Linked DNA regions of Homo sapiens: region 1 is linked to region 2. The links are contacts of gene promoters, found by promoter capture Hi-C in blood cells and fetal thymus (Javierre and others, 2016). All regions are on one chromosome and are shown on one strand. Each heading gives the region's core, a stretch centred on a gene start or on the middle of the fragment in contact. The rest is flanking DNA. Distances are from core to core; before and after follow the strand shown. Region 1 overlaps STN1 (STN1 subunit of CST complex). Region 2 holds the start of CFAP43 (cilia and flagella associated protein 43).

Evidence for each region. Contacts are between HindIII fragments. The CHiCAGO score rates a contact against its expected background, and 5 or more counts as called.
Region 1: a contact is called between a fragment that was not itself captured here and the fragment with the promoter of CFAP43 in region 2, in 2 of 17 cell types (activated CD4 T cells and fetal thymus). The highest score is 6.1, in activated CD4 T cells.

The regions. Positions count from the first base shown.
Region 1 is chr10:103,892,417-103,896,634 of GRCh38, forward strand. All of the region lies in intron 7 of STN1 (STN1 subunit of CST complex), which reads right to left. Among named protein-coding and RNA genes, the nearest start is that of STN1, 24 kb to the right of the region's middle. The HindIII fragment of the contact is 510 bases long and covers 2,068-2,577 here.
Region 2 is chr10:104,230,510-104,234,651 of GRCh38, forward strand. CFAP43 (cilia and flagella associated protein 43) reads right to left here and starts at 1,855. Exons shown (of 38, transcript NM_025145.7): 1 at 1,673-1,855; 2 at 81-334. The coding sequence starts at 1,737. RefSeq lists an enhancer at 1,682-1,976. The HindIII fragment of the contact is 2,497 bases long and covers 1-2,038 here.

The sequences.
Region 1 (4,218 bases), core at 1,073-3,572, 340 kb before region 2:
AGGACTGAGAAGTGTGCCCCGGCAGGTCACCTTTCATAACTGTTCCCTACCTTAGTTGTGATTTTTTTTTTTTTAATGAACTCAACACTCCATAGTGCAGAATAAAAAAAGCTACCCTCACTGTTGGACAATCTTTGACTTATTTTTTATACAAAACCAAAACACTGTATATATATATTAGCCCCCTTTTCCATTAAAATTGAGGCTGTATACAATCTCTTCCTAGGGACTTCAAAGATTTTTTGTATGTTGGAATAATTTGGGGATTCCAGCATGAAGTATTAAATAGCCTCATTATTTTAAATGGAGGACAACAGAGGCTGTGCAGAGATCCACCAAGGGGAGTCCACAAGGCTGAAGGTAGACAGCAGTCCTGGTGAAGCACAGTCCCCACCTAGAAGGGACCTCTGCTGCTGTCAGCTCTCCCCCTCACTTTCAGTGTCTCTTCACTTCTCTGGAGACACGTTTGCCTGGGGAGGGTCATCCAGGTCATCCTGCTTCTTATCCCCGAGGAAGCTAGGCTATCAGCTATGTCCCCCCATGCTTGACCAGATGGGATGCTTCTTGAGTCAGGGACTTTGTTTCATCTTGGCCACCTCCTCCCTAGCACACGTTAGGTGACTGATAAAGTATCTGTGAGATGAATGGAAACAAATACACATTAGAGTGTGTGTATTCTTCTTATTATTCCATTGGGGATTTTCCACTCCTTCCTAAAACAAAGAAAAGGGCGAACAACAATTGCTCTTCAAAGTACAGATCCTTTTTTTTTTTGAGACAGAGTCTCTGTCGCCCAGGCTGGAGTGCAGTGGCGCGATCTCAGCTCACTGCAAGCTCCACCTCCTGGATTCATGCCATTCTCCTGCCTCAGCCTCCCGAGTAGCTGGGACTACAGGCGCCTGCCACCATGCCCAGCTAATTTTTTGTATTTTTAGTAGAGACAGGGTTTCACCATGTTAGCCAGGATGGTCTCGATCTCCCGACCTCGTGATCCACCCGCCTCGGCCTCTCAAAGTGCTGGGATTACAGGTGTGAGCCACCGTGCCCAGCCTACAGATCCATTTTCAATGTGACAGAAATTTGTCAAGATATTGAAAAGATCAGAGTTCCAAACAAATGTGGCAAAGCTTCCAGAAAAGCATTTGAAGGCCAAGTCCTACCTCTATTGAAAGGTACTTACAAAGCCTATGTGGGGCAGCACCCAGAGGTGCTGAAAAAGAGTGGCTGAGATTTGCTAATGACATTTCCTCAAGGGGAGAGGAAAGAGCCTCCACAGGGTCTCAAGTGTTCACAAGTCCGTCCCAAAGTAACCTTCTCTTTCTAGAAGAGACCTCCCAAACAGGCTTTCTGTTACTCTAATAGATCCTGGTGATGTTTCACAAATGTGTTCTCCTGGGCTAACAATAACAGCCTAACACACTAATTGAATTATCAGTCTAAGTTTTTCCTTAAAAGAACAAGCTGGAGAACCTTGTCATTAGAGCCCCCAAACCGACAAACATTCCAGGTTATGACAGCTTCCATTCAGAAGGGAGAATAAGGCTGAGAAATATTTGACAACTCCCACAGGCAGAAAACCTCTCTGGGTGTGTTTAGAATAAACACCACACCTAGCAATCCTCAGCCACACATCTTTTTATTCACGAGGCTTAGGGCAAAACTGTTTTTAATTTCATACATGAGTGCTCTTAGGGGATGCACCATCAGTGCAACATAGACTCCTTTGCAAACCTTCATAACTACTTAATCTTTATAATTCTAAGGAGATCTATCTTCTTTAGTCAATTTAACATAAGGATCCTAAAGGTTAGGTTTATTACATCTCTTAGCAAGATAGAAATAAATTGGAAACTAACTAGAGATGAGTATTACATGATTATTCCTGTCTTTAAAAATGACTCTTGGTTATCCCCAAACCATATAAAAAGCCTAGTTCCCCCTCCCAGATTTCAGTCAGATCAAGCAGCAGGAAGAGACAATGCTAGGCCTAGGAGATTAAAAACACAGTTTCAGCTGTGAGCAAGGACTCAACAGAAATGGCTCTCTGTAAATATAAACAATACTTGAAGCTTCCTTTCCAAAAACATTTGCCTCAGCTGACCCTGGGACATATTTCCCTGGCCTAGTTATAAAGACCATAGTCTCAAGGGTAAAGCCACTAATCGTCTCTTCCAGCCAGCAGCTTTTCCTGGACTGGGATCTGTGTCTTTCTTGTCTTTTTCAAAAAAGCAATGACAGACTCATCAGATTTAGGAAACCGAAATTGCTCACAGGCAAAAAAAAAAAAAAACCAAACAAACAAAAAAAAACAGTCACTAGCTAAACGTGCTGAGCTTTACCAAGCCTCGCCTCATCTCAGGTCAGGAACTGGGTGGATCCCTGAAATATATATAGTCTTCATTCCCAAACAAACTCAACATTCATCCAGCTGTCAAAGAAACAATGGTTTTGCAGGCCCTGCTTATCATGTTTCTGGATTTGCTAAGAAGGACCACTATGAAAAAAAGGAGGAAACATTCAAGCCTGCTCTCTCTCTGCCTCTAAACTATAACACCATCACAATGATTTTTTCTGTTAAGCTTTCATCTGTATGACAACAGAAAGTGCCAAAGGATCTAGGGTTTCAGTCTCATTGTAAAGCACCTTTAGTCTCCCAGGAATCTATTAAACAGAACTCAGTTTAATCACACTGACCTCCCCAACCAGAGCAATGTGAGGGACTAATTCATAATTGATAGAAAAAAGAGTTTCCAAAGACAAAACAAATATAGTGCCATATTCGATTCTTTTTAAACATATAGCACCAGGCAGACACAAGTTTCTGCTGTAAGCATTTTCAAAAAGATATGCCAAAGGTTCCCCACAGATCATTTTGAATGGAGGAGTCTTTTAGTCCTCAAAGAGTCCTTAAGTCTCTCTCTCTACTTAATTATAGCTATCACGGAAGAGCTGGCTTCATGTGAAAAATATGGTCTTCGCTAAGCTTTAAAGTTTCTATCCAAACATGCTGATAGAATCATCAGAAGTCCTAGGAGGTCAATTTGGCTTTGAGCCGCCTCTAAATGATTAAGTGGGAAGAAGGTCAATCTTGCTGTCAGCCGACAGCTGGAGCGCTGCAACTGTTTAGAAGCAACCTTGGCAAAGAACAAAGCAGCCAGTCGTGACCCTTTCCACTTTGGTGTTTTCTGAAACGATATCCCTCATCTCCTCGTATGAAACCATGGGTCACTGGGCACATCAGGCTGTTGCCCAGAAGAGATAATTAGGAGCACAAACAAAACTGAGAAGCAGTGGTCATGCCCAGGAAGTCAGGATGTGACTCAGTATCTGTTCCACCAAAATCAAGAACTTATGTTACCTAGCAAGGGTGTTCACAGCAGCCTTGTTGGTGATGGCAAGAGATCAGAAAACATCTAAACAGTCCAGGAATGGACAGACTGGTCATATACATGATGGTACATGTGACAAAGACTGTAGGGGCCAACCTATATGTACGGCTAGGAAAGAATCTGTGAGACATACGTCAATGAAAAGTGTGGTGTCTCATAGTATACTACGCCATGCTACCATCTGTGTGAAACAGAAGGGGCTACAGTGACTTAGAGTACACACAAGCACAGACTATCTCCAGAATGATATTCCAGACACTAGTACTGGTGCTTGTCTCAGGGGAAAGGGAGTGAGAGGGAGGATGGGAAAGAAACTGACCTTTACCTTTACACTTTGTGGGACAATTTGAATTTTTAAAAATCATTCATTCCTTCAATCAGCAAATAATGAGTGAGAACCTGCTTTATGCCAGCCCCGTTCTAGGCCCTGGGTAGAGAGCAAAGAATAAGACAGACAAGTCCTCTGCTCTCACAGAACTTAAATTCTGATGGAGGAATAGGCAAGCAAACAAATAAAGACCAGTGACGTCAGATACAAAAACAGGGTGTAAGGGTGAGGGGCCACGTGGCAATCAGAGCAGCTAGACGGCCAGGGAGGGCAAGGAGGGACATTTAAGCTGAGATCATTCCCTGGTGGGATAAAGAAAGTAAATAAATGAGTCACGTTACAACAACAACAAACCTAAGAACTGCAATGAAAGGGAAAGCCTAAAATCAATGTCTCAAATAATTCTTAATTCCAAGCAATACGTCAACACCAAGCAACAAAACAAGTTACCCAAATAAAACTAGGGGTAAAAACATGGAGATAACTTTTTCTTTTTTTTTT
Region 2 (4,142 bases), core at 605-3,104:
ATCTTCACTTATAATAGATTTAGTCAACTCTTTAAACAAAATCCTTCAATTATGGGCAGAGGAAGGGTTCTCTAGAATACCTTTCAATTTGGTCCTTCTGGTCAATCCTGGAAAGCTGTATACGTAGATGAGAGGTTTTAGCTTCCGGTCAGAAAAAGCCACAACTTCACAGGGGATGTTAGTTGCCATGACGCCCACAATTCCATTACTACACTGCAGTACAGTCTTTTTCTTGGTTTCAATATTAATAAATATTACATAATTCCCACAAGGGTAGCAAATGGTGTTGTCGTTGACAAAATGAACATTCTGCTTAGGGAATCCTTGCACCCATCTTTGGGAAAAGATATGTCAACATCAATATAATACATTTCAAATACTTTTTTTTTTTTAACAAAGCAAAGGGTCATCAAAATCTTTGAAACATTTCTATTTTCATGTCCTTTCTGCCCCCAATTTCTAAGATAAAAGAACACACATGCTGGCTGTGAGATCCATTTGAGTCAATGAATTATAGAAATTTAAATGTAGACCTAAAGTTCCGTAGGTCTCCCAGGCCTTCTTCAGATAACTTTTTCAGCAAAGGAAACTCTCTGACCAAACCTGAGAAAGTCTCAGAAGGACTTCTGGGGTCTTCTATACTTGGAAGACAAAAAGTGAAAATAACAGAGAAAAGAGCTTGATCTCAACACAGTGGCATCCTGGGCCATTCTTTTATAATTAGTTTGATTTTTTTAAATAAACTTTAAAAAACAACTTTGCATAGGACAGCCTGCTTTGTGGTTGTTAGCAGAGTAGGAAAATTGCTTATTTACACAGATGAAGAGTATGTGGCCATATTTTAGATTTAAAAATACAGATAAACGTAGAAAATAAAAGGAATGAAGTCGACGTGAATGAAAGGCTAGCACACAAAAAGAACATACTCTCAAGTAAGGAGTGCGTGCTAGGTGTATGCTAGAAAGGAGAGGAGATGAAGGAGATTCTATTTTTATTTAAATATTAAAGGTATGCTTGAAGATGGTGGAAAAGGCAAGTGAAGGACACTGGTTTGGTGAGAAACCTCGAGACATTAGAGTGTCCAGGACTAGCAGGGGATGCTGTATAGAGTGGAGGTGGGGGCTGGGAGGAACACTCTAGAATGTAGGGGAAAAAATGCCACCTATATCTGCGCAGTGCTTGATGCTTTTCAAAGGCTACTATAAATGCAAATAAATCCAAAGCTAGTGGATAGGAGTTAGAAGGAAAGGATTCAGGGACCTAACTTTGGGGAAAATCACCAAAGGTAGCAAGGACGGGATCCGGGCTGTCGCCAGGTGGAGGGGGAGGGGGATGTGATCAGAAGACCCGGATCACTAGCGGGAATCCTGAGCTAGAAGGAAGAGATGAAGGGTGCAGGGGACGTTGCTGGGTAAGAGACGGAGGGTCAGGGTCGCAGAATAAGGAGTGGGAAAGACAACTGGGGACGGGGTCAAGGAACAAGGGGATGGGGAGCGGACAGGGGAGGTCACACGGGGAGGGAGGCTGAGGGAAGGCACTGGGGGCAGAGGGGAAGAGGTCGAAGCTGCGGGGAAAGCCGCCCTAAGGAACCGGAGGGAGAGGAGGGAGGAGGGGACTTGGGGCAGGAGGTTCCGCGAGACCCAGATCGGTCGCGGGGCCGTGAACACCGCACCTCACGGACAAGGACGCGCCGCCGGCGGAGTGGGGGCCTTCGTCGCGCTCCCGGCCTTGCGCCATGGGCAGTGTTTTCCTCAGGCGGGAGCAGGCAGCGCACGCAGCACCCCAGGGCGGGTCGGTTACCTTTCCGCCGCCGCGGGGCTGCGGGCCGCGACGCCGCTGCTGTGTACACCCGTATCCCGGAGACCGTAAGCCCCGCGCCCATTGGCTCTGCGCTTTGGCCCGCTCCCTTCTGAGCCGAGCAGATTGGTGGAAGGTCTGCCGCTCTCGGCCAATGGGTGAGCGGCAAGCCAAGCGAGGGGCGGGCCCCTTGCTGTTCAAAGTGTGGTCTGTTTACCAGCAACATTGGTGCTACCTGGGAAGCTTGTTATAAATGCAGAAACTTGGCTCCCACACCAGATCTACTCAATCAGAATCTGCATTTTAACAAATTTCCCCAGGTCCGGGCCAATAATTGCAAGTAAGACTCATGCCTACAATCTCCGCGCTTTCGAAGGTCAGAGCGGGAGGATCGCTTGAGGCTAGGAGTTGAAGACCAGCCTGGAAGACATAGCGAAACCTGCCGCGCCCGTGCCGCATCTCTACAAAAAAATTTAAAAAGCAGCCGGGCATGGTGGTGCACGCCTGTAGTCCCAGCTACTTGGGAGACTGAAGTGGGAGGATCGCTTGAGCCCAGGAGTTCAAGGCTGCGGTGAGCTGGGATGACGCCACAGCACTCCAGCCTGGGCGACAGAGCGAGACCTGTCTCTAAATAAATAATTATTTTTAAAAATCAATAAATTTCTAAACAGACTTTCATTTAGAGTGCTGACTGTGCCAAACATTGTTGCAACGTCTTCACATCTCCCATCAGCCCCATTTTACAGATAAGTAACGTGAGGAAAAGAGAAGCACATAATTTGTCCATGGCTACAAAGTTGAGTGGGACTTTATTTATTTATATTATTTATTTATTTATTTTTGAGATAGGGTCTCACTCCGTTGCCCAGGCTGGAGGGCAGTGGCTTGATCTTGGCTCACTGCAACCTCCATCTCCTGGGTTCAAGCGATTCTCCTGCCTCAGCCTCCCAAGTAGCTGAGATTACAGGCACGTGCTACCATGCCCAGCTAATTTTTTGTATTTTTAGTAGAGACGGGTTTTCACCATGATGACCAGGCTGGTTTCAAATTCTTGACCTCAAGTGATTCGCCCGCCTTGGCCTCCCAGAGTGCTGCGATTACAGGCGTGAGCCACCTTGCCCAGCCCTGAGTGGGACTTAAACGCAGGTCTAGCTAATTTAGAGCTCCAAGCCCTTAAGTACCATATAACACTTTGAAATGTACCCTCTTGCTTCCTCAGGGAAGCAGACAGCTCTGGAAGTAACCTGATTGAATGGTCGGCAGCTTGTCATTCCTTCTTCTCTCCCATACCTTCCCTTAGACTCCCTCCCTTACCCTTCTTCCTTTCCCTTCAGTCGTCTTCCCTTCTCTACCCTTCCCTTCCTTTCTTTAGGTCTTTCCTTCCTGTCTTGCTTTCTTCTCTCCATTTCTTTCACAAATATTTACAGAGCATCCCGCATGCATTCATGCATGTGCTAGTCACTTGGAAAAAATAGAAAAACAAATAAAGTTTCTTCCTTCTTGGAACTTAGAGACTGGTGGGATCCAGGGAGTTGGGCTAGATATCCACATGGTCTCAGATGGTCTGTGTAAGTTGTGAAAGGATTTATGAAAGTGATTTTATGCAAGAAATGTTGTACAATTCACGGATTGTTAGGCCTCCTAAATGCTTCATACAATGCCCTATGACTCTTACTGTACAACTTGCCTGCTTAAGTAAGGGTGAGCCCTGTGGACATGTGGAGTTAGCTATGCCCTCTAGCTATGCTAGAGAGTCAGCTGTTATCTGCACTTCTGCCTGTTGTGTCCTAGGCTAGGCTCCACACCTAGTACACAATTAAAATCTCTTACTTACCAAGGTTTTCACCAAAAATAAAAGTTGCAAAAAGTTAACATTATAACATGTAATTAAAACTACTAAAGAAACAGTTTTACATGCAAGGTGTGTAAAGAAAGTAAAATGTGTTTTTGGTGAAAGATTATAAGAAGTAATGGGAATGTGGATTTTTCTCTGCCTACATTTAAGTGTTAAAGGATTGCTTTAAGTAAAAAAAAAAACTAAAGGTTTAAATAAGTTGTGGAAGGTTTATAAAAATTAATTGTAAGAGATTCTGTATGTGAACATACTGGCTAAAGTTACAGGGGTATTATTCAGTTTTTCGATAAATTAAACATTGGAATAAAAGCACAACAGGTTTTTCTTAGAGTTGATCTGCTCTTTCACACACACACACACACACACACAATTGTAAAGGGTTATACGAGGTTTATAAGACTCTTACCTTATGGTTAACATTAAAATTGGGTAAATATGTCTATAAGGTTTTATTAAAAATTGGGTTTAACATTAATAGCACATTAATGTA